4 separate regions of the Homo sapiens genome follow, and all the other regions are linked to region 2. Evidence: promoter capture Hi-C in 16 types of primary human blood cells and fetal thymus (Javierre and others, 2016). All regions are on one chromosome and are shown on one strand. The core of a region is centred on a gene start or on the middle of the fragment in contact, and the rest is flanking DNA. Distances in the headings are between cores, read along the strand shown.

Region 1 (4,481 bases), core at 1,716-4,215, 2.3 Mb after region 2:
AGATACAGTGAGTCTAGTAACACTATGACCTAAAGATTACTAGACATTCCTCACAAAAGCAAAAGGGCCCAGAGAGAACTCTTTCCATTAAAACATTTTAGCTGATACTTCCTCAAAGACATTATCTTCTTTAGGTTTCAGAGGAGAATTCCAAAATTTCCTGTAGAGATCTCAAGGTTTTTGATAACATGATACTAATACAAGTTGCTTGTTCTTTTCCTAGTGTATCAGTAGAGAGAGGCTACGCAAAAGATGGTGAATATCTTAAAATAAACAAGACCGAGTTGAAAGATGTTTGTAAACCTTTGGTCTGTAATGATTTCAAGTACTTTTGGCTTAAAGGTAAATATGGTTTGTTTACTTATTCCCCTAAGATTTTGCCAGAATAAGAAAAGGCAAGATAATAGGTGTCCAGAAACACTGCTTTAACACATCAGAACAAATATTTGTTAGAATCGGGGCCAGTTTCCTTTCTAGCGGCAGACATAAACCATCTAAATAATGAAATGTATTAGGGTACAAGTAAAAAGTTCATTGTCTGTTATTTTCCACATAGTTTTTTTAAGTGCAGTTGTTGGGACTGACTGATCTGGTTTTCAAAAAAGCTTGTACATGCAAATTCATACTCTGTGAAAACTGACCTTTGTATCCAGATAGCTAAAATCCAATGTCACTTTCAATTCTACTCTTCTTCTTCTTCTTCTTTTTTTTTTAATGTAGCTAGAATTAATGTAGTGAATATGTAATGAAATGCATTATCCTGCATGGAGATTTATCAAATTTTCCAACTGAATGCTATGCTTTGCTAGTACTAGCTGGAGTTCACCTGCATGTTGGTGTGGCGTGTGGCTCTTTTTTGTAAAGAGTTAAGTCGTACACAAAAAAAGGGAACAAAGGTCAGCACCCAGCCGCCACTTGAATGTGAGATTTTTCTTTTTATTCCCCTTGATGTATACTAGGCTCTGTGTTATTAGTCTTAATGATGGAAAATTGTAGTGTTGATACAAATCTTTTTTTCAAAGTAGTAGGCGGGAGCTCCATTTGTTAGTAAGTTTTTTTTGTGACTAAAAGCCATGGACAGTACATTTATGTAGCAGTAAAAGGCCTAGATGCTCTTTCCATAGCAGAGCTAATTATTCCTACTGTGACCTTACTGATCTAGCCTGTTCCTAGCACATCTCATCTGCACGCCTGTTCCTCTGTGTAGATGGTGTCAGAGAATATGAAAAACCCTATAATGAAACCATTTTCATGATGGAGAAAGGCTACTGGAGTTGCACTTGCTACAAAGAGGCTCAATTATATGAGTAATTGTGATAATTTTCTACATTCATAGCCTTCAATGGGGGAAAAAGAATGAGAGCCACAAAGGAAAATTACTTTAACAAGAAAGTACAGAGAGTAAAAATGGAAGAAGAGACAAAAAGGGGAAAAAATAACCAGAAAAAAAGTTTAAAAAATAGATCTGGAGGGAGGAATAGCGAGACAGGGAGAACAACAGAAATGCTCAAAAGCCCATGTGCAGCTGTGTTGCACAATTAAATTGAATTTTTTTTTCTGCAGTTGATGAATGTGACTACTGCAAATGTGCCTCTGTAGTTAGCTATCATTTGTTGTTCCGTGACAGGAAAAGGATAATTACCTCTCAGAGAGAATCAAAGGCTGACATGCCCTTTAGACACAGCCATGAATGCAGAGCTCGATAGAATGCTTGAATAAGAATCTAGTGTTCTCTGCCCCCTTCTACTGAAGAATAAATTTTGTTAAAATGCAAGAGCACCACCAGTAAATTTGTTGAACCCTAGGTGTTCAAAAATATGAGGTGCATCTATCGACTCATCCCATTTGCAAAAATAAAACTGCATTTTGAATTCATTTCTATTATATTCATGGACAGTAAGATAGTGAGATATGCATTAAATTTCTTTTCCCAGTAGGGGTCTGATTCAACATTTCCTATGAAAGAACAGAGAGACACTATCCTTTTTTCCCAGGCTAGTTAGCCTATAATTTAAAACTGTCAAAAACACAATTTTGTTCAAAGTCTTCAATAAAAGCTTCTCAGATATAACCCAAAGAGATTTTACTAAAGTTTGATTCAGACACTGTTACAATATTTTTAAAGCCATAAATACATTTAACTGATATTTTACTGGCTTTTTTCTTAAAGTATTTGAAGGCTTACGAAGAAAAAAAGGCAGCATCTTTTCAAGGTGACTAAGCCTTCCATCCTTTAGACAAATGGGAAGTATTCAATGGTTCATATTAATGAGAACAGTACTTTAAAGGGCACTGATGTGATCATCTTTAACAGAATGCATTACTTTAAAATGAAAACATATATTCGGCATGTCTACTTCAAAACAGTTATGGGGGAAAAAAGACCTAAAAGTAGGTAACAGATTATAAAGAAAAGTCTTAAATTCAGAAAACACACATACACATACATTCAAAAAGTAAGGATAGAATACTCTGTGAAAAATAAACAACGGTTTACAGGAAAAATGAACCAGACAAAAAAAGAACAGAAGATCACCGTTTCAGGCTATTTGTTAATCTACCAATTTGAAAGGTAAGGCTTGCTTGAACTAACACTTTATTATCTTCATATCACAGAAATACATTTCACTTCATTCCTTTATAAAATTTAGTTTTTCTCCTGTCTTATTAAAAACCCCAGGGTTGAGATGCTCATCCCCTTCTTAGGTACTCCCTTCCATATTTGGTGTGATTTTGAATAAAGGGAAACTATAGACCAGTATGTCAAGCTAAAACAAAAGCAGCCATGTAAATATTGCTTGCTCCTTCTATAAGTTTCTTTGCTGACCCTGGTATAATTCATTTTTATAAAATCTTTTTTTTTTTTCAACTCAGGGAACAATATTGCAGCCTGGCAGTTCACATACTGATATCAGACTGAAATGATGGTTCTGAATCATAAAACATGTCATCAACTTTATACCAAGCCACCAATAACCTTTGTACCATTTGCCAACCCTCCCTTTACTTGTCAATGTAAGGCTTACCTGATTGTGTTTCCAATTACAGAGAAGGGAGCCCCTGCTCTGCAAGCTGCAATTGCTTCATCTCTACACCTCCTGGCAACCTCCACTAACTTTTTACCACATTCGTCCACATTGCCCACCAAAAATGTTTCAGAGGTGTCTCCATGGTAGCCATTGTAATAGACCTAAACATAAGCAGAAATTTAAAAATATGTCCTTGTTTAAAAATCTACTTTCCTAAAGTATACATTGTATTCATTTATGTATTTAGTAGACTCATGTTTTACCCTTCCAGAATTATTCATTTGCCTATCAAAAAAAGAAGAAATAGATATATTGAAACCTTGCAGAAATTTAAAAGATGAAGCCATGCAATGATATTGCAAAATTTAAAAACAACTATGTTAACTAGTATGGTTATTTCAGCATTATGATGAACAATACTACTGTAATATTTTGATTCCTCACTTTATTTCTGAGAAGACAAAATTATATAAGCAAAAATTAGTAGCCAAAGACCTTGATCTACAATTACCACAACAGGTTTAGAGAACCAAAAAGTATTTAACATAGTGAAAAGTTTCTTCAATGTCATGAAGACTTACTTGATTTTGTATTTACCAGTTCTACATTTGAAGTGATATATAATGACAAGAAGAAGTAAGATAGACATGTCTGTATTCTAACAAACAAATAGGAGAATTCAGTTCTAAGAATTGAAGTGGTTCCATATAGGAATGAAATGTGTTACAGAAAAATCCTATGTCTAGAAGTGAAATCTTAATCAAATGTTCCAGACAGCCGAACGTTAACAGAAAGCACTATATATGGATATCTAAAGAATTAGAATATAATAAAACAAGCTTAAAAGCACAATTACAGAAAGTATAATTTTATCAGTCTTCAGTGATTCAGAAGCCAAGTAGGATCTTGAAAGATACCAGATTCATTATAAATCATTGATAACCAAGCACTATAGTAAATATAAAAGGCAGAGGCAACTGTTTGGATACTGATCCTTTGATGTAGCATGGAATTTGCTACTTTGCATAAATTTGTCCTATCTAATTATTTTTCACATTTCTCTTGCTCATAAGGTAGAATGTAGAAACTGTTATAAAAAAGATGTTTATATGAGCTTTCAGTCTGTTGTGATACTGAATTAATGTCTTAAATCTGTATACTACTCTGCATTTCTTAAAAAATGCTCTCATATTCTGTGAAGGAAGCAAGAAAGGTCTTTATTAGATCTTCAGTTTATAATTCAGGAAACTGAGGCACAGATAAGTAACTTGTTTAAGGTTGGTGGCAGAATATAGAGGTAGATTCAGGTTAATATGATGGATTATTGGCTTCTAATCGAGTGTTTTCTCTACTATATCAAATTATCTTAATTACCTTGCAACAGAATAGTGTTTTATACATTTACTCCCACTTACAGTCCTTTGCAATCCAGGAAAGTATGAGTTTTTATTT
Region 2 (4,749 bases), core at 1,793-4,292:
CTTGTTTTTGAGAAAAGGAAAGAGACGGGTGTTGGAGGGAGGTGGAGAGTGGGCAAAGAGGGAGCCTTTCTATGTATTGCTCTTCGCTCGAGAAGTTTGGGCGAGTGGTATGTGTGTGCGCGCGCGAGTGTGCGTGCTTGTGGTTGTAGGTCTCCGGTGTATGTGTACGTCTGGGAGTACAGTTTTTAAAGTGTTTGTGTCGGAGGATGGTTCGCTTTTGTTTCCGGACCACGCGTTCGATTCTTATCCGGGCGCGGAAGGCAGAGGGGAGCTCCTCGCACAGCGGGCGAACCGCAGCCCGGGAGCCCTGAGCGGCTCCACCTCGCGCCCAGCCCGGGCCCTGGGGGCGTCACTGAAGCCCCTGCCCTCCCGCCTCCCGCTCGCTCGCCCTCCGAACCTCTCGTTCGTTCTCGGTGTCTCTACTCGCTTGTGTGCTCGCGCCTCTCGCCCGGCCTCTAAGAGTCGTTGGGGCCAGACGCTGCTTCCTTGCCTCCCGCGGAGGCCGCCGCCGCCGCCGCCGCCGCTGCCGCCGCCGCCGCTGCCGCCGCCCGGGCGGCACTGACGCCGGAGTCATGCAGGATGAGGTCGGGGGATTCGGAACGGGGCGTCTCCAGGTTGCTGGCGTCCGTGTCACTGTCGCTGCCCTTTTTGCCCCCGCCGCCCCCGTTGTGCGTCTTAATGTGTTTGCTCAGGTGGTCGCTGCGCATGAAGCGCTTGTTGCACACCGGACAGGCGAAGCGCTTCTCGCCCGTGTGAGTCCGCAGATGCCGCTGCAGCTCGTCCGAGCGCGTGAAGCGCTTGCCGCAGAAGAGCCAGTTGCACACGAAGGGCCGCTCGCCCGTGTGCCAGCGCAGGTGCGCCTTCAGGTGCGACGTCTTCCCGTACACCTTGCCGCAGCCCGGAATGTGGCAGCTGTGCAGGCCCTTGCGCCGCAGGCTCGCCCCGGCCGGGCCCAGCCGCTCCGCCTCCTGGCAGTTGGGGCAGTCGCAGGTGGCGCGGCCCGAGTAGCGGCGGGCAGAGCGTGCCGAGCTCCCCCCGGCGGCGGCAGCCGCGGCGCCCGATATCATGGCGCTGGCGGCGGCGGCTGCCACGGCGGCGCTGGAGTCCGAATAGGAGGGCAACACCGGCTTGAAGCCGTCCTGGGCCAGCAGGTGCTGGCTGGTGGAGAGCAGGTGGGAGGCGGCGGCGGCGGAGGAGCCGAGGCCCGTGGAGCTGAAGGCGGAGTGCGTGAGCGAGCTGAAGTCGGGGTTGTAGGTGCCCAGCTGCGAGTGCAGCGAGGCCTGGGGGGCGCCCGAGTGCAGCGAGCTCTGGAGCCCCCCAGCGGGGTTCTGCACTTCCAGCCACGAGCCCGGGCTGCTGTGCACGTCCCACCACGACGACGCCGCGCCGTTGGTCACCTCGCCGGCCGCCAGCGTCGAATGGAAGCCCGACTTGTACCAGGACTCGTACGGGTGCGCCATGCCCACGCGCGGGTACAGCCCGTCGGCTGCCGTCGTGTGCACCTTGGAAATGAAGGCCGACTGGCCACCCGCCTCCTGCGGGGACACCCCGGCCGCTGCCGCCGCGGCAGCCGCCGAGTTGGAGAAGAGGCCGCCGTAGTCGCTGCTGAAGGCGGACGACGTGGGCGACGTGGAGGCCAGGCAGAAGGCGCTGTTGGCGGCGCCCGAGCCGCCCGCCAGGCCGCCCGAGCCACGGCCCCCGGTGGCCACCGCGAAGCCCGAGAGGCTGGAGCCGAGGTTGCAGCTGGACGAGGAGCGCTTCCAGGGGTGAAAGCCGCCTTTGGCGAAGGCGCTCGACTCTGGCAGCGTCGTCAGCGGGCTCGTGTTGCCGATCTTGTTGCAGGTCGCCGCCAGCATGGCCAACGGGGTCGTTCCGAAGCGCGGCTCTTCCTAGAGTGGGTGGGATGGGGGAGGGAGCAAGAAGGAGGAGGGCAAGAGGAAGTGGGGGAAGAAACAAAGTGCACCCGTGAGCAGCCTCGTCCCCTGCGGCTGCTCCCGGGGGGTCCTGGCTCCCCGCCTCGCGCCTCCTCCCCACGCGCCCGCGGAGGAGTCGCCGCACCGGGCGCGGAGCAGGGGCGATCACCCGGGCGAAGGTCCAGGCGCCGGAAAGTTGCACTTCGCTGAGGCTATAAATCAAAGATGCCTCCGTGTTCCCCGCTGCAACCCTGCCTACAACCGGACTTGGGTTGTCGCCGTAAACCGGCTCATCTCCCAGAAGACCCCAAGTCGCCCTTCGGGGTGAAGCGCGAAGGTAAACACAGAGACCAGAGACAACAAACACCGGGTGAGGGCGGAGGCGGCCGAAACAGCTGCCAGGGACGGGCGAAACTTGCAGCTCTCCCAGGGTGGCTACGACTTGACTTTTCTTTTTTAATAGAAAACGTTTGGTTTTAAAGTTTACATACACACAAAAACAGCGATTATGAAAACAATAATCCGAGGATAAGCGGCCAGAGACAGATTTCAAAGTCATGGGCGAATTGGGGAGCCGCGGAAATGTAAATGTTTATTAGCGTGACTAGATGGACTGCAAAACGATTAAGACTGTTTTCTGGAAACACCATTGTCGCATAATTGCAACAAAATCCCCAAAGCAATGCGGGGGATGGGGTATAAATCACGAGGGGAAGAAAAGAAACCTCTAGCTTTTTTTTGAAACCAAATGAAAAAGGACTTGATTAAGAAGGCCTTTTCTTGCAAAGGCATCTTTCTGGGTTCCAAAAACTTGGGGAAAAATCAGTCCCAGAAATGTGGAAAGTGCTAATAGAAGCTGAAGCTGCAGTCTAGCAGCAACAGTTTCTCCGGAGCCGCAGACCCCAGAAGCCATAACGAAAAATTACTCCGGTTAAAACAAGCAAATGCGTTGCCGCGCTTGCGACTTACCCCGAGTATAGACGTGGCCATAGCAGGTCTCTGGCTGCGCAGCGAGGCTGGGAGCGGGGCTGAGCCTGGCGGCTGCTCGGAAAAACTGCTTGGGTCCCGCGCGGCTCCCGCGTCCCCGCGCTCGTGCCGAGCGGACTCCAGGCTCCCGCCGGCTAAACTCAGCCTAAGTGCGAGGAGCACCCGCTTTGAAGTGCCGCTGGCTGCGCCTCTCGCCCAATGAGGGCGCAGGCAGAGCAGACCGGAGCTGCCCCGCAGCCAATCAGACGCTCCGAGGGGCCCGAGCCCGGGCTCCCGGCGCGTGCCAGTCAAGTCAGCTAGCTAGGGCCGCGGGGGTGGGGGGGAGTAGTGGGGGATACTTGCGGGGGGGGGGCGAGGGCGGGCTGGGGACTGAAGAAATTACAGTGCAATTAAAAATTTACACTCACGCACCAAGCCAGGTTTAAGTACCAATGAAACCGAGCCACAAGCACCCCCCCACACACAAACCACCCCGAGATGTTGCAAGTTAGGGCTGACAGTCCTACTCGACTCCCCACTTGTAGGAAAGGAGGCAGGAGGGGAGGAGACACCCAGACACAGCCCGCACCAGCAGGGCCCAAGTGGAGACGGAAATGTGAGCCCTCACTTTGTGTGTCCAGGCTTTTGCCTACAGAACACAACTTCAGCTTGTATCTATCATTCTTGCTTGTGATTTTTATCATTTTCGTGTGTCTTCTACCCAATTCCTTATTCCACTAGATTCAATTTCACTCTCACAGTTATACTGGGGAGGGGGCGCGAAGGGACAGCTCCTCCGAGAGGAGCGAAATAGGCCTCTCTGTACAGATCTACATCCACAGATTTGTTGGGAGGGCCTGGAGCCTGCTGCATCCCGCCATTTCCCCCCAGCGGTGTAAGTGACTTCCTAATTGTCGCTCTGGCCTCTGACCCGGGGGGTAATACAAGTGCCACTCACGCTAGAGGCTTCTGGTGGTAATTGAGGGCACCCTTTGTACGGTTTCGCCAGCGCTTAGATACCAGGTTAACCCAGTTGTCAAATATGACTAAACAGTGGGATGTGCTGATTATCTGCCGGGTTTTGCTGTGGGCTGGCATGGGGGTGGGAGGCATCAGCCCATACAACACGCTGCACGAAGCCGCTTATTTTCTCACTGTAACAACTTTGGAAACAGAGACCGGCGCGAGCGGCGTCCGCCCCCACCTCCACCTCCGCTGAAGCTGCAGCTTGCTCGGCTGTTTGTTTAACCCGGTGAAGATTTGCATGTCGCGTTTCATCCTGGAGTGGAGTTTTCTTGTCCCAGCTCCAACCCACTCCCATTCCAGACCACCAGGGCCTAGAGGCTCGTCCGTAGGGCAAGTGCGCTGTTTTAAGAGGTAGGCTCCCCATTAGTGCCCTGCTTTCACGGACGCGCCCGAGAAATCTCTCCAGGACTTTCACCCGGGAGGGCGGAGGACCAGGCCACACGTGGGCGCTTCCACATTTTGCAGGCTGGAAGCATCCTGAAGTCCTCCCTGGACCTTGTCAGTGTGAAAAGAGGCGTCCTCAAGCAGACCAGGGTGCGTCTTCGAGTCCCCCAGCAACCGCTGACCTGCTTGTTTTTCTCTTTCTGGGCCCCGCTTTCTCTTTCTTCTCCAGGGTAGCCAGAAGCTGTTTTTGAACCAGAAATACCAGCGCCCTCGGGCAGACCTGGGCACTGGTTTTAATATAGCACACTCCCCACTAAACCCACACCCTGCTTCTTAGGAAAAAAAAAAAATTAAACTACCAACCCCAAACCCTCGGGTGCAAACGACGAGTTGTCGCGGAGCCGGTGCAAGTGACAAGGATGTGGAACTGTGCCTCCCGTGTTTTCTCTCCTCTTTTGCA
Region 3 (4,717 bases), core at 827-3,326, 2.2 Mb after region 2:
TTGATCACATTTTCCAAATTTCACAAGAAAAATGTCAAGATTCTCATTTCACAAAGCATGGGGTTTTACAGCCACACACAACAGAACGCAAAAAGGCTAAGCTTGTGCAACATGTTTACAGAACAACAATAATAACAATAATAATAATAACAATAATATGTACAGTCATTAGATCCTGCACTGGAGATTGTGCGTTCAGGGTGGTGACTGGCATTATTCTGTGGTCGAGCCTCTAGGGATTGTTGTAAAGCTGATTTTGTCTTATTTTAAAGCCCACTGGAATTAGAGTGCTTGTTCTCGCCTGTTTTCTCTCTACTCCCCATTTGCCCTCGCTCCCTCTTTCTACCCAAGGAGGAAATCAGCATTTTCCTTCTTGTCCAGGCGAAGCAACAGAGTTCCTCCCGAAATGAGAAAATCATGTTGGCTTCATTTATCGTTCTTTTCTTTTAAAAATTATTTATTAAATAATGTCGGACATGTAAAAAATGCAAATCATTCGGCTCCAAACTCTCCATACCAGAGAAGTACAAAAGTTACTGTATAAATTAAAAATCACCACGTCCTCCTTATTCGTTTCTCCCCGTGCGCTTAAAGTAAACAGTGCGTTTGAACAGTGCGTTCCTTGCGCCCAGCAGAACCCTGAATTGGCAAACAGCCTCAGGCGAAGTCCATTTCTCAATAAATAAAACCCCCTCCCTCCAATGCCCCCAGATTCCCACACCAGCTACACAGATGGTCAGGCAGAGTGTCCCAGGATCCGGAGATGGTCAGCCCGGCAGGACCCGGGCCGCTCAGACCTTGTGGCTTTTTGCTGAGGCCGCAGAATGAGGACAGCGGACGGATGAGGACCTGGACTTTACCAGCGCACAGACAGAGCAAAAGGAGACAGGAGACTGACAGGACAGAAAAGAGCTTTTGCTTTTTCTACATTTTGTTTTTGTTTTGTTTTTTCCTGATAGTCCCACAAAGCTGAAGGTCGGCGGGTCGGGTGGAGCGGGTTTATCTTGCTGCTTGGGCTGTCTCAGGTGGCAGTGGCTTCCCTCCGAGGCCACTCTCTGCTGCCACTGCTCGGCCCAGGCCAGGGTTCAGGCTAGAGCGCGGATGCCGGGAAGTTGCTGGGCCGGACCTCGCGGGGCTCCGAGGAGATGGAGGGCGTCCCGCCTCCACTGTTCCTTCTTCCCTCTGGGTCCTTCTTTTCCGGACGGGATGGATGGACCTGGAGGCGGGAGGGACCTGGGCCGGGGAGACAAGAAGGAGACGGGCGGGCAACCTCACATAAGTTGGGGTTGCTGCATAGCTTCTTGGTGCGCTGAAGGGTACCACGATGTGTAGCTGGGGATATAGGAGCCCGCGTTTCCTCCTGAGCCCTTCCCGGATGAAGAGTTAGGGTTCCAGCCGGGCGGCACGGGTGGGGAGCCAGCAGACAGGGCCCGACCGTTGGCCAACGCACTACCCTCCAGAGCCGCCCCACCCTGCTTCATCAGCTTCTTGAACTTGGATCGCTTGTTTTGGAACCAGATCTTGACCTGCAAGAGCGGACAACAACGTGACTCAGGCTGGGACCACTGAGCCTACCTAGGTCACAGGGAGGAAAAAAGGGACCGCAGAACAGCAGAGATAGGACCTCCCAACCCTGCGCCAGCTGGCAGCTCCCTGCCAGAGAAGCAGAGACATCCCTCCTTCCTCCCTTCCCCCATAAGAGCCAAAGGCTCGAAGGCCGAACCTCCCGCCGCCGTCAGCCCACGGGGGCAGCTCTCAGAGAGCCAGGGAGGAGTTGTGATGAGGGGAGAACCGGGATCCAGGCCTTAGCCTGCCAGGGGCTCAGTCCGACCGTGGCTACCGCCTGCGGAAGATACAGCGCCTGCATAACACCGAGCCAGCAATTCCAATATCAACATCAATAAAAAGAATCGAAAACCTAGGAAGGAGTGGAGGAAATTTATTTGCAACGCGACCCAACTTTTCTATGCGCCATCTTTTCTGCCCTTGAGTTGGGACGGACTAAGGAGGCCTCAAGGTTTTGCTGAACTTCTCTTTGGATTCAAAACCATTCTTGCACTAGTGTCTGTTTGCTTTCTCCAGCTCTGCTCCAAATCCCGGACCGGACGTCGGAAACCCGCGCCCGCCGCCGTCAGGAACGCTCACGGGCTCCCCGGAGTCTTACAGAAAGCCGGGAAGGAAGGTCCCGTTTCTTCTCTAAGGTCTGGGACTTGAGAGGTGAGAGGGCGGAGGAAAGGATCTCCCCCCACCCCCAACCGGTAAGAAGGAGGAGGAGGAGGGAGGCTGAGGCGCGGACCCAGGCCCCGAGTGATTAGTCACACAATTTAAAGGCAAAGGAGGGATTAAGCCCGGAGTCTATTGTTCCAGTTGTTTAGGCACGTGTGACCTCTGAGTTCCCAAACAAATCGTCTGGGGAAATCCTTCCTGCGCCCTAATCAGATTGTCCAGGGACAGAGGGCCGGACGGCAGGCAGCTCGGGATACCGAGAGCAGTGACAGAGCTAGGGCAGAGGGAATGAGGGAGGAAGGAGACACGCTGAGAGCCAGGGGTGGACACAAACACATACACACAGTGACACCCCGACCCTGAGTCCCAGCGAGCAACAAATGAAGACCCGGGCGCAGGCCGGCCGCGGAAAGCCTGCGTGGCAGAACGGAGCGGCAGCGGCGAGGTACCTGAGTCTGTGTGAGTCCCAAAGAGGCCGCGAGCTCCGCCCTCTCCGGCAGAGCTAGGTACTGAGTTTGCTGGAACCTCCGGTTCAAAGCCTGCAACTGCAAACTGGAATAAATCGTCCTGGGTTTACGGATCTTTTTTCCCTTGCCATTGAAGCGCACTTCACCGCCTTCCACCACCGTGCTCTTCTCCGAGTCCGCCCCTGGAGGGACAGCAGAAGTAGGGCCCGTTGTTAATACGAGGGGCCGCCTTTAGTGCGAACAGCCGAGAGCGAGTGGCTACCGAAGGGTGGCGGAGGCAGCACCAGGGAGAGAACGTTCAAGAAACTCTGAAAGCCAGGGAAGGGTCCCCCAAAATCCGAGGGCCTGTCCCGGGACGCTGCAGGAGGGATAGAGCCGTTCCCAGGAGCTCAGCTCCTGCCTTTGCAGGGAAAGTTTGCTATTTTTGCAGGCGGTAGTTGAGGTTTAATTACCCTTAATTGCATACATTGTTTATAGCGCTACGCAATAAATAATTACCGAGACTAATACGTGCACATGTGGGTTTCTGTTTTCCAGCGGGGCATTGTGTGCTCTGCACACCGAGCCGCCCAGAGGCCCAGCCAGTGCCAGGAGACGCTCTGGGATTTATCCTTGGCTGGATAGTTGCAAATTGAGGGAATTTTTAAAAAAATTTATTTGCTGTGACAAGGATCTATAGATTGATATTCGAAACCTCCACTGCTCCCGCGCCCTCCCCACCCCCACCCCACCTCGCTCTCCTCTCTTCTCTTTCTCTCTCTCTCCCTCTCCTCTTCTCCCCCGCTCCTTCTTTCCCTCTCTCCCTTGTACCTCCTCCTCTCCCTCTCCCTGGCAAGCGCACGTACCTGGGTCCTCCAGGCGGCTCTGGGCGAGGCTGGCGCTGCCCGGGTAGGACTGCACCGAACTGATGTAGGGGCTGGATGCGTGGCTGCTGACCGAGTTGACGTAGGGGTAGCCCAGCGGTCGGGAGAAGGACGAGGCTGAGCTGTAGGCGCCGTCGGGCTGCGAATGGCCCGCCGAGTGTAAACAGTGCATGGAGTAGTGCCCGTGGGACATGGGAGAAGGAGACATTTGCTGGTTGGGCGGCCCAAACTCCATAAACACCGCCTTGCCCGACACGGGGCTGTTGAGACTTTCTGGCATGGTGGTCATGGTCATCTCTTCTCGCGGGGTCTGGGTGTGGGACTTTCTCTCCTCTGCTTCCCTTTTGGGGGTCTCTATGTTTCTCAGGACAGGAAGGAACCCAATTTAAGCGGAACAGGGGTTTTCACTTTCCATTCATAAGAAAATGGAGTTTGTCTCTTTGAAAAGTCTAAGCATGATGCTGCTGAGCTCCCCAAACTCGGTTCAAAGCTTTGACTCAGCGAAGGTCATAAATATTCATGAGCTGGCGGAGCTGATTGGTCCGCTGTCTTGCATAATCACTGGGGATTGGTCCGAGGCGCTCGGGCTCCGCTGGACTAGAGCGGGCGAGGCGGCCCGGCCTCGGGTAAGACGCATCCACACTTCCCGGCCGGGGCTCCTCTGCAACAGAGCGCGCCGGGCAGGAAGCACAATGGGCTGCGGCGTCTGCGCCGGGGCCCCTGCGGCCCGCGGCTCATCGGCCTCCCGCCTCCCTCGCGCGCTTTCCTCCCCAGGAACCAACCAGCGGCTCCGCGCCGCCGCCCCCCTACCACTGTCCCCACCCTTCAGCGGTCCCTAACACCGGACACCCGGGACCGCTTCTCGTCGCTGCCACTCAGTTCGGCGCAGAGCTAGGGCGGCTCAGGAGGAGACTGACCTCTGCCTCTGGAGCGCGGAGTCGCGCACTGGGGGCGCCCGAGGCGGCCAACAGACAGAGGTTCTCCTAAGAGCCTTGTGCCTAGCGCAGCGCCTATCCGGCCGCGCCTCCCCGGTACGCTCTGCCGCATCCCTGGAGTCGGGGCTTAGGGGCCCTCCCTGCGAACTCACTCACTCGGCCGCTGCGCCAACGCCGCTGTCGCTCCCTGGGGCCCGCTCGCATTGCTCCAGGCCCAGCTGGCCAC
Region 4 (4,756 bases), core at 34-2,533, 2.2 Mb after region 2:
ACAACTCCTAAGCATAATAAGCATGTGCCCAAGGCAAGAGTGACACTGACATGGAGGGGAGGGTCCCATGTGGCACAGTGACAAAATTTCTGCAATCCATCACCTTTAAAAGGAAACGCATATGATTTGGGCTTAGAAGTGAAAGAACCCCACTAATGATCATTAAAGACTTATGTTCCTAAGGATAACAACCAGCTATGCTAACCTCTTTCTATTCATGGACTGAATGCACCTAGGAATCAAATGGTTTCAGGTCTGTGCTTGGCTTCCCATTCATCTGGTTTTCACAGATAAAGGATGTTCTGGACTTTTTCCTGTAATTTTTTCCTAACAAAGTCATTGCATCCTAACTTCAAGGTCATGGTATTAGCTATAGTAGATAAGCTGCCATATATATATGTTTGTGTATAGATATATATATGTGTGTGTACATATATATATGTGTGTATATATATGTGTGTGTGTATATATATAATCCCAAAAGTCAGTATCTTAAAATGTAAGTTTATTTCTTGGTCAGATAACCTTCCAAACAAGTGATGAAGATTCCCCTAGGCGGTGAGTCCCCTAGGGCCTCTAGGAGACTCTAGGGCCATGTCATCTTCATAGTTGAAGCTGGTTCCAGACAGCGGAAGGAAAAAGAGAGCAGAGAGGAGTCTCAACTCTGCCTAAAAGGTCCTGTCCTGGGAGAGGCACACATGGCTTCCACTTATGTTCCATTCTCTTGGATTGAATGACATGGTTACACATAAGTGCAAAGGGGGCTAGGGAGTAGTTTAGCTGCATTCCCCAAAAATCAGATTTGAGAGACAACACTTGGTCCATTCCACAACTATCCTTCAGTAGTCTAAGTGAAGTTTTGTTCAATTAAACATTAAACAGAGGCACAGAAAAGTTAAATAACTTTCCCTAATTTACACAGTTAGCAAGTAGCCAAGTTAGGATTTAAGCCCAGAGCCCATACTTTTAACCACTGTATATATTAACTCTAAAAGTATTAACATCTAAAAGTATTGGCATCTATAGGCCGGGCGCGGTGGCTCACGCCTGTAATCCCAGCACTTTGGGAGGCCGAGGCGGGCAGATCACGAGGTCAGGAGATTGAGACCATCCTGGCTAACATGGTAAAACCCTGTCTCTACTAAAAATACAAAAAATTAGCCGGGTGTGATGGCGGGCACGTGTAGTCCCAGCTACTTGGGAGGCTGAGGCAGGAGAATGGCATGAACCCAGGAGGCGGAGGTTGCAGTGAACCGAGATCGCGCCACTGCACTCCAGCCTGGGTGACAGAGCGAGACTCCGTCTCAAAAAAAAAAAAAAGTATTGGCATCTATAATCATGACCTGAAGGCCCAGAAGCCATAAAAAAAAAAGAGTCACATATTTGACCATACAAAACTTAAAATCTCTGAACTAGAAAAGAGAATAAACAAAAGTAAAAGAGAAGCAATTAACTTGGAATTAATATTGACTATAAACACAATAATGAGTTAATCTCCAAAATATGTAATAATTTCCTGTAAATCAATTTTTTAAAAACAGAAAAATGGGCAGAGAACAAAAATAGGCAATTCACAGAAGAAAATAAAATGCCTATATAAAAACACAAGCCAAGCATGCGATGGCACATGCCTGTAGTCCCAACTACTCTGGAGGCTGAGGCAGGAGGATCACTTGAGCCCAGGAGTTCAAGATCAGCCTGGACAAAATATAGCAGAGCATCCCTCTCTAAAATAAAATAAAATAAAAAAGACACACACTCTACTAATGTAAAGCCTTTGCAAGTTAAAATATGGCACTATTTTAAGCCTATCATATTCAAAAAACACTGAAGATTCCTAATATTCTTGGTGAGAGTGCTCAGAAATGAGTATAGAGCTTAAATTGCTTGTTTTTTAAGGGGAGCTTAGTGGTAGCTATTAAAATGTTGACATACAATTCAGTTACTAGGATTCTAGTTTACAAATATAATTGAACATGTGGGCAAAGCTCTCCAGAAGACATTCACTCATGTGTTGTTTGTAAATATCGGAAATCATCTAGATGACAAGGCAAAGAAGATAGTCAAATAAATGATGATACCTTCCTCACACATTCACCTTAAGAAGAAAATGATTGCTCTGTAACGACTGACATAGAAAGAAAAGATTTCTTTTTTTTTTTTTTTTGAGACGGAGTCTCGCTGTCGCCCAGGCTGGAGTGCAGTGGCGCAATCTCGGCTCACTGCAGGCTCCGCCCCCTGGGGTTCACGCCATTCTCCTGCCTCAGCCTCCCGAGTAGCTGGGACTACAGGCGCCCGCCACCTCGCCCGGCTAATTTTTTGTATTTTTAGTAGAGACGGGGTTTCACCGTGTTAGCCAGGATGGTCTCGATCTCCTGACCTCGTGATCCGCCCGCCTCGGCCTCCCAAAGTGCTGGGATTACAGGCGTGAGCCACCGCGCCCGGCCAAGATTTCTAAAAAATAAAAATGCTAGCCAGTCGCAGTGGCTCACACCTATAATCCCAGCACTTTGGGAGGCCGAGGCGGGCGGATCACTTGAGGTCAGGAGTTGGAGACCAGCCTGGCCAACGTGGTGAAACCCTATCTCTACTAAAACTACAAAAATTAGCTGGGCATGGTGGCACGCGCCTGCAATTCCAGCTACTCGGGAGGCTGAGGCAGGGGAATCACTTGAACCTGGAAGGCAGAGGTCGCAGTGAGCCAAGATGCACCACTGCACTCCAGCCTGGGCAACAAGAGGGAAACTCCGTCTCAAAAGAAAATAAATAAATAAATAAATAAATAAATAAATAAAAGAAATAGAAATACAAATAAAAATGCTTACGTGTTTACACATTTGAAACATGCACAGGGTTTTATGCATTTGAAAACGCGTGCACAAGTACATGCAAACAATCTGACATGACTGCCTAGGGTCAGTTCCCTGTGAATAACCTGCAAGGTTCTTCCCTCTGCTCCCCTCTCCATTTTCAAAGAAGCGAGCAGAAGCAGCCCAGGTGTAGCACACAGGGAAACTACAGAGAGGCTTGTCAAGGCGGGACTTTGCCCCGCTTACTGAATGGGGCAGTCCTTGCCGCACGGGTTAGGAGCAGTATTTGGCCTTTCCAAACTTCAGTGCTGCAGGCGGGCCCTGCACTTCCCCATCCACAGTGCCTGACGGCTTCACAATGCCCCTGGACCACCCACTGCCGCCTCGGAGGCCCACGCCCAAATCCCCTGGCCTGGCCTGGTCCACTGGATCCCGGAAACAGCGTCTGCCTTCACCTTGGCTGCCGCCAGGACAAGGCCTGCTTAGACACGAGTGAGAAAAGTGGGCCTACACCCTCTCCGCCTGGGCCTCCCTCCGCGGTTTAAAACCCATTCCGCTGAGGCCCGAGAACGCCGAGTGTCGCGGTAAACCTGGCGGCGATGAACCTATAATGGTGTATTTCCAGGCAATAATCCCACAAGGAAGAGCTCAGTATCACCTGCATTCCACAGATGCAAACGACGAAGCACAGAAATATTCAGTCCTTTCCCCAAGGCCACAAAGTCTGGCTCCCGAGCACACGTGTCAGCACATCCTCTTCACATCCAAAGGAGGTGGCACAACCCTTTTGTTCTAAAATGAGAGAGTGGAAAGAAAGACTCTGTGAAAGAGAAGGGAATTTTGTGTCCAAGGGTAGTTTCTAAGTTCCAGAGTTTTCCTTCCTAGTTCTCCCGTTTGTTGGTTGTGGTGATGGTGGTGGCGGTGGTGTGTGTGTGTGTGTGTCTGTGTGTGTGTGTGTGTGTGTGTGTGTTTTGCTTTAACCGCTGAATAGACACTAAAGTGAAAAGGGTCTAAGGCCTGTGAGGCTCTGAAAGTTCCAGAAGCATGCTGCACTGACAACCCAACGATGAGAACACCTAGGGCCGGCACGTCGTGGGCTCACCTCTGCAGCTCTTAGGGGAGGAGTTGTGGTTTCAACCTGACAACTGGAGCCAATCAACACCGGACACGCGGAAGACCCGAGGTCCAAGACCCCCCGGCGACGTTCCCCTCCCTGCTACACTTACCCCCTCGCTTCCAGTCCCCCGCCCCGCCGCCCCCCAAGCACAGCCCCCTCCCGGTCCCCCCGGAACGCCGGGCACAAATGGTCCTCAGTTCAGGGGCGGGAAACCTCGGAAATTTTTTTTTTTTTACTTTTTTTAAAAATTTTAAGTTCCGGGGTACATGTGCAGGATGCGCAAGTTTGTTACATAGGTAAAGGTGTGCCAAGGTGGTTTGCTGCACCTATCAACCTATCACCTAGGTGTTAAGCCCAGCATACATTAGCTGTTTTTCCCTACCCTGCTCCCCACCCCCGCCCCCTGACAGGCCCCAGTGTGTGCCGTTCCCCTCCTTGTGTCCATGTGTTCTCTGAGATTGTTTTCTTTCGTAAGAACAAACCTTGTTGCAGTCTTCTCATATCTCAATGTGAGTGCTGCTGAAAGTGCAGAGTGAACATCTCAGCGGTCTGAGCTTTTGTTCCTGGAGGGGGCAGGGGCGGTGGGGAAAGGAAGAGGGAGTAATTTACTCCATCAGCATTTGCAGCTCTCAGGACCTGGACACTAAAATGTGGCAGCTTTTCACCATCTAAGGGGAATGGGTTTCTCTCGCCCTTGGAAGCTCACCCACCTGTGGCCTGCCTATGGGGCCTGTGCGCTGGGATCCACAGTTAGGCCACCGGATCAGTGTGCCTCAGAGCCTGGGCGACCCCTCGCCCCATACAGGGCGCCCTCCTGGGTCAAGGGCCC

The links. The method cuts DNA at HindIII sites, captures the fragments that hold promoters and counts their contacts. A CHiCAGO score of 5 or more calls a contact.
Region 1: a fragment that was not itself captured here is called in contact with the fragment with the promoter of SP9 in region 2 in 5 of 17 cell types (naive B cells, total B cells, total CD4 T cells and 2 more); the score reaches 22.0 in naive B cells.
Region 3: a contact is called between a fragment that was not itself captured here and the fragment with the promoter of SP9 in region 2, in 10 of 17 cell types (naive B cells, total B cells, total CD4 T cells and 7 more). The highest score is 33.0, in naive B cells.
Region 4: a fragment that was not itself captured here is called in contact with the fragment with the promoter of SP9 in region 2 in 2 of 17 cell types (naive B cells and total B cells); the score reaches 17.9 in naive B cells.

The regions. Positions count from the first base shown.
Region 1 is chr2:172,069,616-172,074,096 of GRCh38, reverse strand. It overlaps METAP1D (methionyl aminopeptidase type 1D, mitochondrial), which reads right to left. Exons shown (of 10, transcript NM_199227.3): 6 at 3,027-3,190. Among named protein-coding and RNA genes, the nearest start is that of DLX1, 14 kb to the left of the region's middle. RefSeq lists an enhancer at 576-2,306. The HindIII fragment of the contact is 1,811 bases long and covers 2,060-3,870 here.
Region 2 is chr2:174,333,247-174,337,995 of GRCh38, reverse strand. It overlaps SP9 (Sp9 transcription factor), which reads right to left and starts at 3,042. Exons shown (of 2, transcript NM_001145250.2): 1 at 2,883-3,042; 2 at 1-1,889. The coding sequence starts at 2,903. The coding sequence ends at 456. LOC102724194 (a long non-coding RNA gene) reads left to right here and starts at 3,020. Exons shown (of 3, transcript XR_427194.5): 1 at 3,020-4,256; 2 at 4,371-4,439. RefSeq lists a silencer at 901-1,110. The HindIII fragment of the contact is 13,141 bases long and covers 1-4,749 here.
Region 3 is chr2:172,084,812-172,089,528 of GRCh38, reverse strand. It overlaps DLX1 (distal-less homeobox 1), which reads right to left and starts at 4,022. Exons shown (of 3, transcript NM_178120.5): 1 at 3,539-4,022; 2 at 2,676-2,875; 3 at 1-1,526. The coding sequence starts at 3,851. The coding sequence ends at 1,272. RefSeq lists enhancers at 700-1,311, 1,925-2,536, 3,151-3,762, 3,794-3,913, 3,763-4,376 and 1 more and a silencer at 4,194-4,303. The HindIII fragment of the contact is 3,945 bases long and covers 104-4,048 here.
Region 4 is chr2:172,108,636-172,113,391 of GRCh38, reverse strand. It overlaps DLX2-DT (DLX2 divergent transcript), which reads right to left. Exons shown (of 5, transcript NR_126376.1): 4 at 4,410-4,490; 5 at 3,410-3,602. Among named protein-coding and RNA genes, the nearest start is that of DLX2-DT, 8.0 kb to the right of the region's middle. The HindIII fragment of the contact is 7,472 bases long and covers 1-4,756 here.